Regions from separate parts of the Homo sapiens genome. Here all the other regions are linked to region 1. The links are contacts of gene promoters, found by promoter capture Hi-C in human tissues and cell types (Jung and others, 2019). All regions are on one chromosome and are shown on one strand. Each heading gives the region's core, a stretch centred on a gene start or on the middle of the fragment in contact. The rest is flanking DNA. Distances are from core to core; before and after follow the strand shown.

Region 1 (2,902 bases), core at 191-2,690:
ATTCTCCTGCCTCAGCCTCCGGAGTAGCTGGGACTACAGGCGCCCGCCACCACGCCTGGCTAATTTTTTGTATTTTTAGTAGAGACGGGGTTTCACTGTGTTAGCCAGGATGGTCTCGATCTCCTGACCTCGTGATCCACCCGCCTCGGCCTCCCAATGTGCTGGGATTACAGGCTGAGCCACCGCGCCCGGCCTAGCCTCATTCTTTTACAATAAGATAACATGATATATGTTGATACAACACGTTTTCTTTCTTTTTTGAGATGGAGTCTGTCTCTGTCGCCCAGGCTGGCGAGCAGTGGGGCGATCTTGGCTCACTGCAAGCTCCGTCTCCTGGGTTCACGCCATTCTCCTGCCTCAGCCTCCGGAGTAGCTGGGACTACAGGCACCCGCCACGTCGGCCGGCTAAATTTTTGTAGTTTTAGTAGAGACGGGGTTTCACCGTGTTAGCCAGGATGGTCTCGATCTCCTGACCTCGTGATCCACCTGCCTTGGCCTCCCAAAGTGCTGGGATTACAGGCGTGAGCCACTGCGCCCGGCCAACACGTTTTCTTAAGATTAAACCTGTTACATAAATGATCGTTCATAATTTTTGGAAGCACACCTGCCCTTAGTATCCTGTTTTTCCACTGGGTGCTTTCTGCAGATGGCCAACGTAGCCATCACATTCGGATTCTTCCTGACTTCATTCTCAGAGGATTACTTTATCTTGAAGTGCTGAAGGCTCCAGGCACCATCTATAACGACAACTCCCAACTTTCCAGCTCATCTCCAGCCTGTGCTTCTCCCCGACTCAACTCATTTTCAACCACGTGCTAGGCCTCCACCCTTGGATGTCGAAGAGCCATCTCCAGTTCCACCCAGTTCATCTTCATCAGAACATCTATGAGTCGTCGTCTCTGCAGTCCATTTGTTTGCCCGCTTGGGAACAGCAAGCTCCTTAAGGGCAGGACTACTACCGCGCTCTCAGAGGCGCTGCACTGGAACATCGCGGGCACAGGGCAGCGTTGGTCACTGCTCCTGGGTACTAGGGCAGCAAATAAACCCAGCAGCTGCGTCTGTCTGCCTGGAGTTGGATCTTTTTGGTATAGATCCAAACGTAGAAGTATAAGGTCTACGTTTATGTACTTGTCAGATATTTAATGACCTCCAACGATAGACATGCCCCCCCAACACCTCCTTCAGTCTTTTTGATTCTTTGAGAATCTTTGAACCACGCAGGATCCTAGCCCTAGGGTGCGGTCGGACTTGCCGCGACGCCAGCCGCCGGGGTTCCTTCCCGAGGCGCCGCCATGGGATCCGCGGTGACCTACGAGGGGCGGCTGGGTGGTGGCCATTGGGCGACGGCGCAGGGTCAAGGGCCGGGCTCTGGGATCGTGGGGAGACCGGGGGTCCCGGAGCCCCCCAGCCCCGCAGGCCACTGCCTCGCCGCCCGACGTCACTTCCGACTGGAGTCAAGATGGCGGCGGCGCGGCCGCGGGCGCCGGGGCCGGCGAAACAGCGGCGGCGGCGGCGGCCCTCGGTGCTCTGAGGCGCTGGCGCGGCGGGCGCGGGTAAGGAGTGGCGCGGGTGGGCGGCCTCTGGGCTCGCGCCGGGACGCTGGTCCCTCCCCCCGAGGAGCGCGGCGGCGACGGCGGCGGCGACACGCTGGGGACCCGGCGCCGCAGGGATGGCCGGGTCGGCGGACGCGCCCCCTCAGAGGTCCCGGGCGTGCCGGGGGCCCCGGGACGAGGCGCGGGCCTCCGGGTCGGTGGCCCCGCGGGTGGGTGGCGGCGCCGGGCTCCTCCTTGTCGGCCGTGGGGTCCCTGCGGCGAAGTTCGGGATTCGGTTTGTCGCCGTGAAGAGCCGCGCGCCCCGCGGGGGACGCGTGCGGGCTGCAGAGACTGGCCGGGTGCGGGCGGCGGTGGGGCCACCTGGGGCCCCACGTGGGGCCGGGCGCCGTCCCAATTGTCAAGCCGCTGTGCTTTTCTCTTTTGTGTTCCCACTGAGTGTGTCTTGCACATTTGCACTCCAAATTTGTTTTGTGTCTTGCGTCTTTGTGTTTCCCAAATAGTTTTTGTGTGGTTTTAACCTGGAGATTGTCTCCCTCAATGTTCCCATAGACCCACGGGTGTATGTGTGTGTGTGCGCACGCGCGCGTGTGTGTGTGTTACAGACGTGCAACTCTGTTACTAATTTTGCTAATAAAGCTATCAATGAACCTCTTTTGATGGTGGTAAGTGAGACATGAAGTAAACCTAACAGGTCAGTGTCATTCCCCAAACCTTCGTGGTTCTTTCGATCCACGCGTGAGCCACCGACCCTCCGGGCTTGTAGCTTTGTGTCGGGCTGTGAGCTGCGGCAAAGACCCCATAGTTAACCGGGAAGTCCTGATTTCCTTAACTACGCAGCTGAAATTTCCCCTAACAGAAATTTCGTGCTGGCCCCTCACTTTTCTTTTAGTGTTGTATTGAGATTTTGGGTGTATTTGAGACGTGGAACGTCTTTTGCTGAATCCCAGTAGGTCCTTAGATCCCTTTAACCAGACACTAGAAGAATCATTTTTACCCCAGAACTCGACTAAAATGTTTAAGTTTTTGTTTACTCCAGGTTTATTAAAAGTGACCGAAACTTTTAACAACAAATGGAACTCTTCAATGATTTCTTTTACAATGGTACACACTTCGCCTCGGTTTGATCAGTTGTGTCCAAGTATTAGAAAAATGTAGGCCTTTTAAAAAAAAACATGATAGGAAATTTACATATATTAAGGAGGAGGAACTGAGACACACTGTCATACGTTCTTTTTTAGTAGGGTTCTGTGTTTTTGAGATGGTCCAAACTGCCCCATCACTCTTGAGGCTTCCGGACTAACACTTATTGGCCAAATTTTTACATGTAGAATCTTAGTTTAGCCTTGAGA
Region 2 (2,902 bases), core at 232-2,731, 1.2 Mb after region 1:
AAGTACTTACCAGGCCCCCACTGGGCGCCTGGAACTGACAGCTGAGCAGGACGAACCCTACTTTCATGGCACTTATATTCTGGAAGAGGGTTTTTTTCTGCCTAAAACTCCTGACTGAAACCAGAAAGGAAAGATACCCTCCCTCACCCTGTCCCCAGATGCGACAAGCCTCCTTGTTCATCCACATGGCGGGCATCCAGCACCTGCTCTGTTCTCGGTTTTGTGTGAGGCTCCATAAACGTGACAGTCCCCCTTCTGTCTCCAGTGGAGAGGAGCTCAGGGCCTGTCTGTCCCATGAACCACCCTGGCTCATTCCTACCCTTCACCTTGCTAGTTCTTGCCTCTGTTATCTTCCCACCCCGAACTAAGTCCACATCCCTCCCCATCCTGGGCCCCCAACCTTTCTGTGAGCCTTTCTTGCTCATTGCAGCCCCTCTGGGCATAATTCTTGCAGTGTGCAGCCCCTCTGGGCATAATTCTTGCAGTGCCATCTGCAAGTGTCACCCAGAGGACAGCGTGGCAGAGAGTGGCGCTGCAGAAGGTGAAGATGGCTCCTCAGCAAGCCTGTGTCTATGCCCCTTGCTAGGTGTTATAGGACCAGAGGAGAGCCTTCATCATAGACCCTGCTAGTTAATTACTTGCAGGTTTTCTTAGAGCACCTACTTGGGGCCAGCTCCCTTTCTAGTTCCCTGCAGAGGAGCTCAGTTTTCTCTTTTACGAGTTGTTTGTACTTTCCTGCCTTTCCCTTCCCCCTCCATCTTCAAGGACTAGCAAATCAGTTGCCACCTCTTAGGTTCTGTCCACAGTCTCCTGGCCGTAATAATCACGTCCCCTCCGCCTCTCTCCCTGCCATCCTTCTTTGATCACACAAGTCCCAGGTCAGCTTGTAGGAGGACCCCTGGATCTATCAGCCTCCTGAGTATGGGGCCTGGGTGGGGTTGACTGAACACCTTCTCCTTCCCACCCCAGTGTGCCTGCTCCCTCAAGGGGCTGCATAAGCACTTGCTGTCACGTCCCCTTCGCCAGTTTCCTGGCACATCCCTGATAGAGCTGAGCACGCTGAGGTCAGCAACAGCAGCTGGTGTTTTGGGTGCTCCAGACGGCATCTGGCTCCTCTCAGTCTTCCCAGTGGGAGTCTGATCTTCCAGCCTGTGCCTGGAGCGTGGCCATCTCCCTGAAAGGCGCTGATTGCTCTCCTTTAGAGGTGACTTGAATCCATACCCAGCAGGCAGGCCGATGCTACCTTCTCACAGCAGAGCAGGCATGCATGGCCCAGGAAGGTAGGAATTTAGCAACAGGGCACCTTTGCCTTACTCTGTGCTTGGTGGTATTTAGGGCGTTTTAGCCTTCCTTGTGTAGAACAGGCTCCCCTCACTGAGCTAGGACAGGTACACAGACACAGGGCTCTGAGTGTGGGGACGTTGGAGTCTATGTACCAAGTGCTTAGGGTCATAGAGCCCCACTGCCTGGGTGCAAATTGTTCCAACAGTGGGGACCCTGAGCAAGTTCCTTAACCCCTCTGAGCCTCAATATCTTCATCTGTAAATTGGGGTGCTAGCCCTATCTAGTAGGGGTTTTGTGGAGATTAAGATCATTTGTATTGGTTCAAAATGGGCCGGATGCGGTGGCTCACGCCTGTAATCCCAACACTTTGGGAGGCCAAGGCAGGCGGATCACCTGAGGTCAGGAGTTCGAGACCAGCCTGGCCAAAATGGCAAAACCGCATCTCTACCAAAAATACAAAAATTAGCCAGGCGTGGTGGTGGACACCTGTAATCCTAGCTACTTGGGAGGCTGAGGCAGGAGGATCACTGGAACCCGGGAGACAGAGGTTGCAGTGAACCAAGATCGCACCACTGCACTCCAGCCTGGGCAACAAGAGGGAAACTCCATCTCAAAAAAAAAAAAAAAAAGGGTGCTGGAGTGATATAAGACTCACCAGAGAGATGGCCAAGTCAGACAAGTCCAGAGTCCAATACTCAATAGGACGTCAAGCACTGGGGCAGGATTTGGACTTCCTGGGGAGAAATTTTTGCAGTTAGCATCTGCCCGGGCTTTGCTCTCCCACTTAGAAGGGGATATCTGGCGACAGTTGGTCAGAATCTCATGCATTATGAGAAGACCACACTGGAGACTCTCGGGCAAGCTGCTTAATCTCTTTGAGCCTCAGTTTCCACCTCTTGTAAAATGAGAATGATGGCACCCATCCTACAGTAGGAACTTGCCAAATAGAGCTGCTGCTTTATCAATAAACCATCTTAGATACTGTGTGCAATACAATGGATTGCAGATAATGATGTTTATTTATTTATTCATTTTTTGTTTGATTTTGTTTTTGTTTTTTGAGATGGAGTCTCACTCAGTTGCCCAGGCTGGAGAGCAATGGCATGACCTTGGTTCACTGCAACCACCACCTCCTGGGTTCAAGCTATTCTCCTGCCTCAGCCTCCTGAGTAGCTGGGATCACAGGCACCCACCACCACACCAGGCTAATTTTTATACTTTTAGTAGGGACAGGGTTTCACCATGGGGCCAGGCTGGTCTTGAACACCTGACCTCAGGTGATCAACCCACCTCGGCCTCCCAAAGTGCTGGGATTACAGGTGTGAGCCACCGTGCCTGGCCTGTTTATTCATTTTAGACACAGGGTCTTGCTCTTGCCTCCCAGGCTGGAGTGCCATGGCAGGATCATTGCTCGCTTCAGCCTCAAACTCCTGGGCTCAAGTCATCCTCCCACCTCAGCCTCCCGAGTAGCTAGGACTACAGGCACACACCACCATGCCTGGCTAATTTTTAAAACATTTTGTTTGTAGAGACAGGGTCTCACTTGTTGCCCAGGCTGGTCTCGAACTCCTGGTCTCAAGTGATCCTCCCACCTCAGCCTACCAAAGTGCTGGGATTA
Region 3 (2,902 bases), core at 154-2,653, 1.1 Mb after region 1:
AGACAAATCTGTGGCAGATGGAAAAAGATGGTTGGGACTCCAATAGGAGTAAGGCAGGGAAGATAAATCTTTAGCTCAAATGAATTGTGATTAACCACAAATACTAAGAGGTGCTTCGGGGAAGCCGGGGTGGGTAAATTGAATTCATGGGGAGGCAGCCTTCAAGAATAGTCTCTGTCCAAGAAGATCGATGCAGCACAAAGGCTTATAAGGTTTTCTTTCTCCTACCTCAGGCTTTTAGAGTGATGAGCCATGAGCTACAGGCACCTGTCTGCATGAATAAAAGATGCATTGAGACCCAGTAGACCCTAAAGCACCAGGCACCAAAGGGCCTCCGTCAAAGCTTACGACCCAGAGGCCTGACCGTGGTGACTCTGCTGCTACCGACACTCATCTTCCAAGCTGGAGATGGCTTTTCTTCTGCAGTTTCATCACCTTTAAGATACTTGTACATGTGGGAGGTCACCACTTGTACACGTGGGAGGTCACTTGTACACGTAGGAGGTCACCTAAGAAGGGAAGTGGTGTGATCTGAGGCATGTGGACAGCCACCTCTGATGTCTGGGACACCCTGAGACACCACCATCAGAATCCCATGGGTTAAGATCTCCTCCAGATCATCAATTTACAAACGCAGTTACCTTTACCTGGGAAGGTTACCTTTAACTTCCCATAATGCCTTCATGAGAACAAGTGAGTAGATAATCTGGCTCTTTTCTAGCAGAGTCCTGAAGGGATGGGACACTGGACGGGTTAGTTTTGATATGCGGATGAGGGTCTTACATGTCGGGAGCATTCGTTCATTCCCTCATTTGATATTCACTGAGCATCTCCCAGGAGGGGGCCTACTCAGGCTGAGGGCTTTGGGGACAGGAGGACGCCAGGAATCTGGTAGACGGGATTGTAGGGAGGGCTTCCCAAGGCAAACCTTGTCTGCCTTACTGCTTAAAACTAGAGCCATCCCAGAGTCAGGGAAGAACACATGTGATTAAGTCACTGTCCAATAAAGTCTGTTTCCACAGACCAAATCCATCCATTCCGGTCAGCTGATGTGCAAGACCCTCCTCACTTTTCCAGACCTGCTTCCCTCTGCTTCCCCACATGCCCCACTGTCCAGGCAAATGGAAACACCTGTGTATGTTCCAGTGGCTGAACCTTTGCTCCTCTGGTGCCTCTCACCTGAACCAGCCTTGGGAAGCATTTCCATCTATCGGGACACCCACCAGTCGGGACCCTTCCAGGTTCATCTCTGATTCTACATTCTCCATGTCTCCTTTCCTGTTTCCTGTGATCAGATGGGACCTGGTCCCCCTTTGGGCCTCCTTAAAACAAAACTTTAGCACCTCCCTCCTGCCTATGGTGTGTTCTGTCCTGTCCTCAAGTCATCTGTCCTCTTATCTGAGTCCCCATTCTTACTCTGAAGGCAAGGACTCTAAGCTCCTCATTACCAAAAAAAAAAAAAAAAAAAAAAAAAAAAAAAAAAAAATCCCTAGAGCCTAGACAGTATCTGGCACACAGTTAATATGTTTGCTGAATTAAAGCTTATGCTCTGGCTACAAATTGCTCCAGGCACGGAGTAGATGACATCTCCTAACCACCATTTGTCAAAGGATTCTTTTCTTTCTTTGTGGAATATGGTCTCCTATAACTGAGTCACCATATCTTGGCATTCCTTGAATTTCTTTTTTTTTCTTTTTTCTTTTTTTTTGAGACAGAGTTTCACTCTTGTTGCCCAGGCTGGAGTGCAATGGCGCAATCTTGACTCACCGCAACCTCCGCCTCCCAGGTTCAAGCAATTCTCCTGCCTCAGCCTCCCAAGTAGCTGGGATTACAAACATGTGCCACATGTCCAGCTAATTTTGTTTTTTTCTTTTTTTTTTAGTAAAGACGGGGTTTCTCCATGTCGGTCAGGCTAGTCTTGAACTCCCGACCTTAAGTGATGCGCTCACCTCGGCCTCCCAAAGTGCTGGGATTGCAGGCGTGAGCCACCATGCCTGGCAGCATTCCTGAATTTCTTGACCCAGGATGGGATATACATGGAATAAAGGGGCTTTTTCCACTTTTCTTATTTTGCAATATAATAATTCATTTACTGGAAAATGTAATAATTCACATACCATAAGATATAATAATCCACATACCATAAAATTCACCATTTTAAGTGTACAATTCAGCGATTTTTAGTATATTAACAGAGTTGTGCCACCATCACCACTATCTAATTACAGAATGTTTACAGCACCCTAAAAAGCAAAGGGGCTTTTTGTTAGCTTTAAGTATGTGGCAGTTCTTTTGTTGGGAAGTCATTCAAGCAATTTTCACAAAGTTGTCCAATCCAAGTCCCGCCAGCCAGGGATTTGGCCTTTCCCACCAGGTCTCCTAGAATTGGAGGAATCCGGTGACTTCTTTTTTTGTTCTGTTGCTGAGGCAGAGTGCAGTGGTGCAATCTTGGCTCACTGCAAATTCTTCCTCCCAGGCTCAAGCGATTCTCTCACCTCAGCCTCCCGAGTAGCTGGAATGATATGCGTGCACCACTATGCCAACTAACTTTTGTATTTTTAATAGAGATGGGGTTTCACCATGCTGCCCAGGCTGATCTCGAACTCCTGAGCTCAAGCGATCCTCCAGCCTTGGCCTCTGAAAGTGCTGGGATTATAGGTGTGAGCCACCGCACCGGCCCCCGCTGGCTTCCAAGGGAGGGCAGGCTGGATTCCATTTGCTGCCATCTCTCTGCCTCCAAGTCTCATCCCACCCTACCTCCACTTCCTTGCTTGCTTACATTGTGCTTAACAGACAACCCTGCCCTCGAAACAGCCTTGAGATGCCTCTAAATCATCAACTCCTGTTCCTCTTTGAACTCTGTCCCTTCACCCTTAATCTGCTGGGACAGCCTTTTTCCTGA

Evidence for each region. The method cuts DNA at HindIII sites, captures the fragments that hold promoters and counts their contacts. A contact is called where the count stands out against the background at its distance.
Region 2: a contact is called between a fragment that was not itself captured here and the fragment with the promoter of PRDM2 in region 1, in 1 of the 25 tissues and cell types used here (dorsolateral prefrontal cortex).
Region 3: a fragment that was not itself captured here is called in contact with the fragment with the promoter of PRDM2 in region 1 in 1 of the 25 tissues and cell types used here (liver).

Annotation. Positions count from the first base shown.
Region 1 is chr1:13,698,748-13,701,649 of GRCh38, forward strand. It overlaps PRDM2 (PR/SET domain 2), which reads left to right and starts at 1,441. Exons shown (of 10, transcript NM_001393986.1): 1 at 1,441-1,553. RefSeq lists a silencer at 1,194-1,963. The HindIII fragment of the contact is 18,174 bases long and covers 1-2,902 here.
Region 2 is chr1:14,936,647-14,939,548 of GRCh38, forward strand. The region is part of intron 1 of KAZN (kazrin, periplakin interacting protein); the gene reads left to right. Among named protein-coding and RNA genes, the nearest start is that of TMEM51-AS1, 210 kb to the right of the region's middle. The HindIII fragment of the contact is 9,973 bases long and covers 1-2,902 here.
Region 3 is chr1:14,788,312-14,791,213 of GRCh38, forward strand. The region is part of intron 1 of KAZN (kazrin, periplakin interacting protein); the gene reads left to right. Among named protein-coding and RNA genes, the nearest start is that of KAZN, 190 kb to the left of the region's middle. The HindIII fragment of the contact is 5,713 bases long and covers 1-2,902 here.